2 separate regions of the Homo sapiens genome follow, and region 1 is linked to region 2. The links are contacts of gene promoters, found by promoter capture Hi-C in blood cells and fetal thymus (Javierre and others, 2016). All regions are on one chromosome and are shown on one strand. Each heading gives the region's core, a stretch centred on a gene start or on the middle of the fragment in contact. The rest is flanking DNA. Distances are from core to core; before and after follow the strand shown.

Region 1 (4,027 bases), core at 821-3,320, 270 kb before region 2:
AGTCCCAGCTACTGGGGAGGCTGAGGCAGGAGAATGGCGTGAACCTAGGAGGCAGAGCTTGCAGTGAGCCGAGATGGCGCCACTGCACTCCAGCCTGGGCGACACAGCAAGAGTCTGTCTCAAAAAGAAAAAAAAAAAAGAAAATACAGAAACTGACATTGGTTCTGACATGTTCTGGATAAAATAGTGCTTTTTTGAGAAGACAACCAGTGACTAAACATAAGATCTTCAGCTTGAAGCAAAGTGTCAAAGGCTGTACTGGAAAATGCCAGCTTCCCTGAGACCCAAAGGAGCTATGTGCTGATGCTGCTTTACTTCTGGGACCCTAGATATCTTCATACATTGAGGATTCACCCAAAAGGTGAATTGCCCAGACTCTGAATCTGGGCATAAAGGTTTCGAGAGTTTCTCCTGTGAAGCAAATATCAAATTTCTCCTATGAAGCAAATGTATAAATATCAAAACTGAGACTCAGTCGATGAAAAACCTGCTACTATTAAGGATACTAAAATGACCCAAAAAACAAAAATAAAGGTGTTCTCTGAAATCAATTCTTCAAACCTAAGATTGTGTTGCACCAGGCAGCATCACTGCAATCATTAGAAAAACTTCCAGGTGACCCCCCCTGAAGGGGACCACTCTCATTTGGGTGGTGAGTTCTGATTTGCATGGATGAGTCTCAGAGTGAAAGGCAGCAAACACTGCTTTCACCTGGAGACCATCACTGAGCATCCCTTCCAAATGAAATGCTCCACAACACAATTCTGGGTAGGACTGTTACGGCCAGGGGCTGTACTGCACCACTGGGAGTAAGAGGATTATCACCTGCCCTAGACATTGACAAGGGTATGTCAGTGGTGGCTCACGCCTGTAATCCCAGCACTTTGGGAGGCCAAGGCGGGTGGATCACTTGAGGTCAGGAGTTCGAGACCAGCCTGGCCAACATGGTGAAACCCTGTCTCTACTAAAAATACAAAAACGATTAGCTCGGCATCGTGGCACATGCCTGTAATCCCAGCTACCCTGGAGGCTGAGGCAGAAGAATTGCTTGAACCTGGGAAGCAGAGGTTGCAGCGAGCTGAGATCGTGCCACTGCACTCTAGCCTAGGTGACAGAGTAAGACCCCATCTCAAAAAAAAAAAAAAAAAAGTGTCAGGCTTCAAACAAATGTAGTCATAATTTCAATATGGGGTCTGAGCTGTGGACAATCAAACCCAGAGAGTAACACCCAAGTCCCATTATGGGTAGCATCTTTATATAGCTAATGCTACATCTTTAACTGGAACTGTGGGGGATTTCTACTTCACACACAGATATTAAGTATAAATATTTTCATCATATCCACTGTAAATTTTCTAAAATGCAGAATATTGCCTTTAGAAATCTAATGGAAAATGAAAGGAATCCAGAGAGATGGCCTAAATTATAAATTATCATATGTTGATGACAGCCACTAATACTGTTCAGCCAACACGGAGTGGATGCTTATTTCTTGGCTCCCATATCTTATTCCCCAAGTCCCTGGATAGAGCAGCGAGTGAGGATGATAAGGAATGAGGTTCAGCAGAGCTGCCCCAAATTCATCAACCCAGGAGAAACAGAAACATCCAAGAAAAATGTCCGCAGGGTCAGGAGATACAAGAAGGTACATTATCATCTCTAACTGGGATGCAGTCATTCTCATTCAATGATTCACTGAACAGGCCACATGGGTGGGGACCACCTATGATTAAGCCACCAGGTCACTGCTAAGCAGGAGATACTCACCAGAGGAGCTTCTTATACCCAGGTGGGTCATAGCAGCTGGGATGTTGTTCACACTATTCCCCACACTCATACTGCCAAAGTGGTGGTCGGTGGTGTCCAGGGAGGCTGGCAGGGGTGTCGAGTAGTGGAGGTTGGTTAGATCTGGCAATGACCCTCCAGTGTTCAAGGTCCCCAAGAAGGGTGAGAGGCCTAGGTTTTGACCATTATGTGGAAAAGCACTGAAAAAAGAAAGATTAAGAATGACTTTCTACAATGTATTTGGCTGTTGGGAAACCAAACATGGCTGAAACCTTTTCCTTGTCAAATAAGAGCAGTGGCTACAAAAGACCGAGGTCCTGGTGCGGCCTCTCTGATTCTGAGAACACTGGTGCTCGGCTTAACCTCTCCGAAACACATATCCTCACCCACTACCTGTGCCCACATTACAGGAATACTAGATTAGGGTCTAGAATAATCAAGACCAGATTAGATTATGGATGCAAAAGTATTCTGAAAATTATAAACCACTCTATAAAATGTGAGGCACTGCTATTTATGTAGTTCTTTTTGCTAGATTTTTAAGTTATCTTTGCTACCAGAAAAAGTATCTCTGAGTAACTAGCTACCTTCCAATATACCTTCCAAGATATATTTTTAAAATTACAGTCTTCATAAACTTTAAAGTGACAAAGAGATGTTGCCATTCATTCATCACAATCTATGGGCTAGGCACTGTGTGCCAGGCAGCGGGCCGCATGTTGGCGGCACCATGATGAACAAGCAGGGCGAGTGTGTCCGCCGGGGTCAGGCCTACTCCTGAAATGTACAGGCCTGGAGCAAGAGTATAAAAGAAGGCCCGCATACCATCTGTTTCCATTTTTAAAAGTTATAAATCAAATGAACAAACCCTTACATGAACTTTGTTCTATGTGTCTATCCTGACATATTATACCTTCATAATAGCCTGTGAAGCCAGATTTACATGTAGAATTCTCAGACTTCTTGGAGTTCTGTGCCAGAATGCACAGGGAGACAGCCTGGCCCTCAGTCCACGTCCCCTTCTCTTCCCCCTAGTTCTGTTCTGTACTGCAGTACGCACATAGCTATCCCAGCCTATGCAGCCAAACTCTGTCCACACCCTGCTGACTCTCTAGCCACCCCCCAGGCCTAGTGCGTATACACTGGTGGTACGTTCCCTTTGGGAATGAAGCCCTCTCAAGGGCGGGGCCCCAGGGAGGGGCCTGCTAGCCAGGTCTGAGAGGACCTTGTTTTGGAATTCACAGATGGGCAGGAGAGACAGCCTGGGAAAGCAAGTAACTGCAACGTGGCAGGAAGCGCGCTATGCTGGGTTTGAGAAGGGGTGTGTGTAACCAGTGCATATAAGTGACACCGGGAGCAAAAAAGCAGGAGTTGTCCATGTCAGGATGGGCTGTGGAGGGGACGGGTTTGCCATGGATGTGACACAGTGTGTGCGTGGAATTAAGAGTAGCTGGGCATGGCTGAGGTGTCAGGTGTCAGGGCAGAGGGTGAGGAGGGAGGGTGGCACATGGGGAGGGAGAGGCAGGCGGGAGAGAATGTGCTGTTCTCAGGAGTCTGGATCAGGGACTGTGGAAAGAGGGAGGCCAGGTTAAGCTGGAGAATGGCGTTTCAGAAATGTCACTGTGGTTCCAGTGTGGAGGATGGCCTCAGCAGGCAGAAGGAGAGGCAGGGAGAACCAATTAGAAGGACCACCTGCAGTGGTCCAGGGGTGATATAGGAAAAGAGCAGTGAGGGTGACGCGGAGGAGAATGCGGGAGAAGGTGCCACCAGCCAGGAGCAGAGGGAAGTCACGAATCCTGAGGACACTTCATTCCCTCCTGCACACATCAGCAGAGCACCTCCCAGGGGCCAGCCACTGGCATCAGGGCTTCAAGAGACTGAGCCATAAGGAGCATAACCGGCAACATAATACAATTCAGTAGTGCAGTGATAGAGCCTGGAGGGAGGCCATGTGGAGGGAAGCCCAGCTGACCTGGGGAGGCTTCCTTGGAGGACATCTGAGCTTAGTTTAAAGGCTAAAGAACTCAGGTGATCTAGTCAGGAAAAAGATTTCAGGCAAAGCTCACAGCATGCGCAAAAGCAGGGAGGTGTGAGACCACATGGTGTGCCCTCAGAACTGTGAGGATTCAGACCACGGGAGGTTGAGTTTAGGAGGGCTGGTTAGTGGTGGGAGATGGAAGTGGAAAAGCAGGTAGAGAGCACCCGAGGCTGGGACTGATGAGAGGCTGACACGACGCCAGTG
Region 2 (3,951 bases), core at 81-2,580:
CCCTTAAAAAAAAAAAAAATGCAGCCAGCATGACCACCCACTACAAAGAATATTGCATTTCAAGGGAGGAAGGACCAGACTGTGGTGAAGAAGTTTTACTCTTTCACATCTTTTGTCCCACTACAAATCACCTATTTACTACTGGAACACACACACACACACACACACACACACACACACACACACACTTTTGGGGGAAATATTTTTGTATTTACAGACATTATTATTGGTCATTTATAAAGTATTGAGTTTTTAAGGATCTAAAAACCATCTCTCTGGTTTAAAACTTTAACAAACAACAATAATGTAATTAGAAAGTAAAAATTGTAATAAGAGTTTTCAGTATTGGCCAGGTGCTGTGGCTCATGACTGTAATCCCAGCACTTTGGGAAGACGAGACGGGCGGATCACCTGGGGTCAGGAGTTCGAGATCAGCCTGGCCAACATGGTGAAACCCTGTCTCTACTAAGAATACAAAATTAGCCGGGTGTGGTGGCACACGCCTGTAATCCCAACTACTTGGGAGGCTGAGGCAGGAGAATCGCCTGAACCCGGGAGGTGGAGACTGCAGTGAAAGGAGATAGCGCCATTGCATTCCAGCCTGGGCAACAAGAGCGAAATTCCGTCTAAAAAAAAAAAAGAGTTTTGAGTATAATTTTTATTTCTACATTCATTACAAAACACAGCTGCAGGGCCCACTTGCTGGAGACAGCGCCACTGAGGAGGGGAGACGTCTTAGCCACGGTTATAGAAACCCTGTTTCCCAGCCCGTCCCTTTCCCCATGCACAGGTGACCTCAAAGGCCCCACAGCGCTGAGGGGCTGTGACTAAGTGCCACTGTGAGAAGCTCCAGTGCGTTCACCGGGTTTATTAATAGGAACATGACTGCACGCGTGGGGCCGAACCCCGTTCTTCTTCTCGGTGCTCGCGCCCTAACCGGGGTGCGGCGGTCAGAGGGTCACAGATCAGCTGAAACCCTGGGACCACCATCGAGAAGCAAGAAAACTGATTAAGAGAATGACTTATCCCGCCGACGGTATAGAGACCACAGCTACCTCTCCCACAGCCCAGCAAGACCCGGGGGCTCCCAAAGGCCAGCGCGGGAACCCCGCTGAGAAAACGTCTGGGTGGCGGGCAAGCCCCCTCCACGCCCCTCAGCAGCGCGCCGCTGCCGCCGCGGTCTCCCTCCTTGAATCACTCACCGCCCCAGGGCCCAGCCGGGGATGGAGCAGGAAGTGAGTCCTCCACCGCCGAGCCGCACCCGGCCCGCAACCCCGAGGCTGTGCCTCCCAGAACCCGACCGGGATTCGTGACAGGGCTGTGGGGACACAGGTGGGACTCCGGCTTCGACAGCCAGCGGCCGGAAAGTACCGCCCCCATCCTCTTGCTATTGGCTTTTCAGTTTCCATGGCTAGAATTTTTCTCTGTCCATAGGCTGATAGAGCTGTCAATTATCGCCTAGCCTTCTGGGAAACGTAGTCCCGAGCAAGACCTCAAAGGACTCGGAGCCGTGGATGTCCAGTTCCAAGCGTTGGAAAGTGCTAAACCCAATTCCCCAGCTACCGGTCCCCCGGAACCGCCTGTTTGGAGCCGAGGGATCTAAATGCTGTATCCTCACTGTGGCATCTGCAGATGTGAATCTCCTGGCCTCACCCACCTACCGCGGAGCAGCCTGGTGCCCACCATGAGGTCTCCCGCGCTCTGGCACTTCGCCCCTCCCCAGCGCAGAGCAGCTCAGCCCTCGGGCCTTTGCGGCCTCTCTTCTGCCCAGTCTTCCACCTCATCCCCGGCGGCCGGAGCCTGCAGGGTGTTTGCGGAGGCCAGGTCCCAGACCAACTCAAACTGGACATTGGAAAGGCCCAGCAGAAGCCCTTAGTAGAAAACAGACATTCCGCATCCTTCCCTTGGCATCAAACTCCCAGGCACATCCCCTTTCCGTCTGGTTGATAGCCAGAGGAGGCGGGCGAGGGCATCAAGTATTCTGGGAAATGTGATATCGGGCTTCAAACTGGGGAGGCTCCTGGGTCTCATGTGAGAGCCAGTGATCACTTTGGGTCGGCCCCTAGCTAAAAAACAACAAAGTCTTTCCTTAAAGTGAAGAAAATGTGCCTGTCTACTCCGTTTGTTGATTCAGTGCAATTTAGAAAAATAAAAGAACATTTTGTGATGTATTATAAAACGCTTAGAATTACCAGCCATAGAGTTTTTTTTTTTTTTTTTTTTTAGACGGAGTCTCGCTCTGTCGCCCAGGCTAGAGTGCAGTGGCACGATCTCGGCTCACTGCGAGTTCTGCCTCCCAGGTTCACACCATTCTCCTGCCTTAGCCTCCCGAGTAGCTGGGACTACAGGCGCCCGCCACCACACCCGGCTAATTTTTTGTATTTTTAGTAGAGACGGGGTTTCACCATGTTAGCCAGGATGATCTCCATCTCCTGACCTCGTGATCCGCCCGCCTCGGCTTCCTAAAGTGCTGGGATTACAGGCGTGAGCCACCGTGCCCGGCCCGAGTTAATGTTGAAGATCCCTTTGATGCTAATTCCACCATTCCTTCAACAAAAATAAGGTGCATTTTCCAGTGGATATTTATTGGGAACATTCTGTTCTCAAGATCGTTCTGGGGGCAGGGCGTGGTGGCTCACGCCTGTAATCCCAGCACTTTGGGAGGCCGAGGCGGGAGGATCACGAGGTCAGGAGATCGAGACCATCCTGGCTAACATGGTGAAACCCCGTCTCTACTAAATATAGAAAAAATTAGCCGGGCGTGGTGGCGGGCGCCTGTAGTCCCAGCTACTCGGGAGGCTGAGGCAGGAGAATGATGTGAACCCGGGAGGTGGAGCTTGCAGTGAGCCGAGATCGCGCCACTGGACTCCATCCTGAGCGACAGAGCAAGACTCCGTCTCAAAAAAGAAAAAAAGAAAGAAAAAAAAAAAAGATCGTTCTGGGAACTGTGATTACTCGGGAATCATACATAACCATTACCTTCATGAAGTTCACAGGCCAAAAGGGGAAATAAACCATAAAAGGTATCAAAATCCTAAGTAATTTTTTTTTCCATATAGCCAGTGGCATCTTAGTTATTTTGCTACACAATTATAGTCATCTGCAAGGTAACTACATTGCATTTTCGGAAACTCTGTCGACTATGAACAAATGTCTGGTTAGCAGAGGTAGTTAGACGTAGTTAGATTTAGTTAGACGAAATTGAGGAAAATGGAAATCTCAGAGGAGGTCAGTAACAAAGTAACACCCAGGAAACCTAGGGATTGCCAGTCCTCCTGTAACTGGAACAGAGTTCAGGACCTGGAGAACCGAAGGCATCTTCAGACCCCTCGGTAAGTCTTTCTAGCATTTTGCCATTAAGGAGATCATGAAGATTATTCTTCAATCTGGGACTGGAGTGGGGAGATGAATGAAGAGTCACAGAATCTGGCTGGTGGCTATCCCCTGCCGCTCTCTGCAGCTTCTGTTCCTTCTGCCTTACCTTGTTCTCTCGGCGGTTTGTTCACAATGATCAGGTGTGTGGGGAGTAGGGGAAAGGAAGCTTGGTCTCACGAGAAGAGCAGTCAGTACAGGAAACCAATCATGTACCCGCAATGGCCACGTGAAGAGAGGATCATTACCTGTTGAGGGGTTGGGTGCTAAAGGGCGTGGCCGAGAGGAGGCGTAGAAGAGCCAGGAAAAACTGTGAAAGGACTTCAAGGAGCATGAAAAGACAGAAAGACTTCAGCACTTGCTATAACTGAATTTATTTATTTATTTATTTATTTATTTATTTTGAGACAGAGTCTTGCCCTGTCGCCCAGGCTGGAGTGCAATGGCACCATCACAGCTCACTGCAACCTCTGCCTCCTGGCTTCAAGCGATTCTCCTGCCTCAGCCTCCCAAGTAGCTAGGATTACAGGCGTGCACCACCACGCCCGGCTAATTTTTTGTATCTTTAGTAGAGACGGG

Evidence for each region. Contacts are between HindIII fragments. The CHiCAGO score rates a contact against its expected background, and 5 or more counts as called.
Region 1: a fragment that was not itself captured here is called in contact with the fragment with the promoter of ZNF774 in region 2 in 6 of 17 cell types (total B cells, activated CD4 T cells, naive CD8 T cells and 3 more); the score reaches 8.1 in total B cells.

The regions. Positions count from the first base shown.
Region 1 is chr15:90,623,734-90,627,760 of GRCh38, reverse strand. CRTC3 (CREB regulated transcription coactivator 3) reads right to left here. Exons shown (of 15, transcript NM_022769.5): 10 at 1,768-1,985. The region is part of intron 3 of CRTC3-AS1 (CRTC3 antisense RNA 1); the gene reads left to right. Among named protein-coding and RNA genes, the nearest start is that of LINC01585, 34 kb to the left of the region's middle. The HindIII fragment of the contact is 9,195 bases long and covers 1-4,027 here.
Region 2 is chr15:90,349,663-90,353,613 of GRCh38, reverse strand. ZNF774 (zinc finger protein 774) reads right to left here and starts at 1,330. Exons shown (of 4, transcript NM_001004309.3): 1 at 1,203-1,330. The HindIII fragment of the contact is 4,226 bases long and covers 1-3,543 here.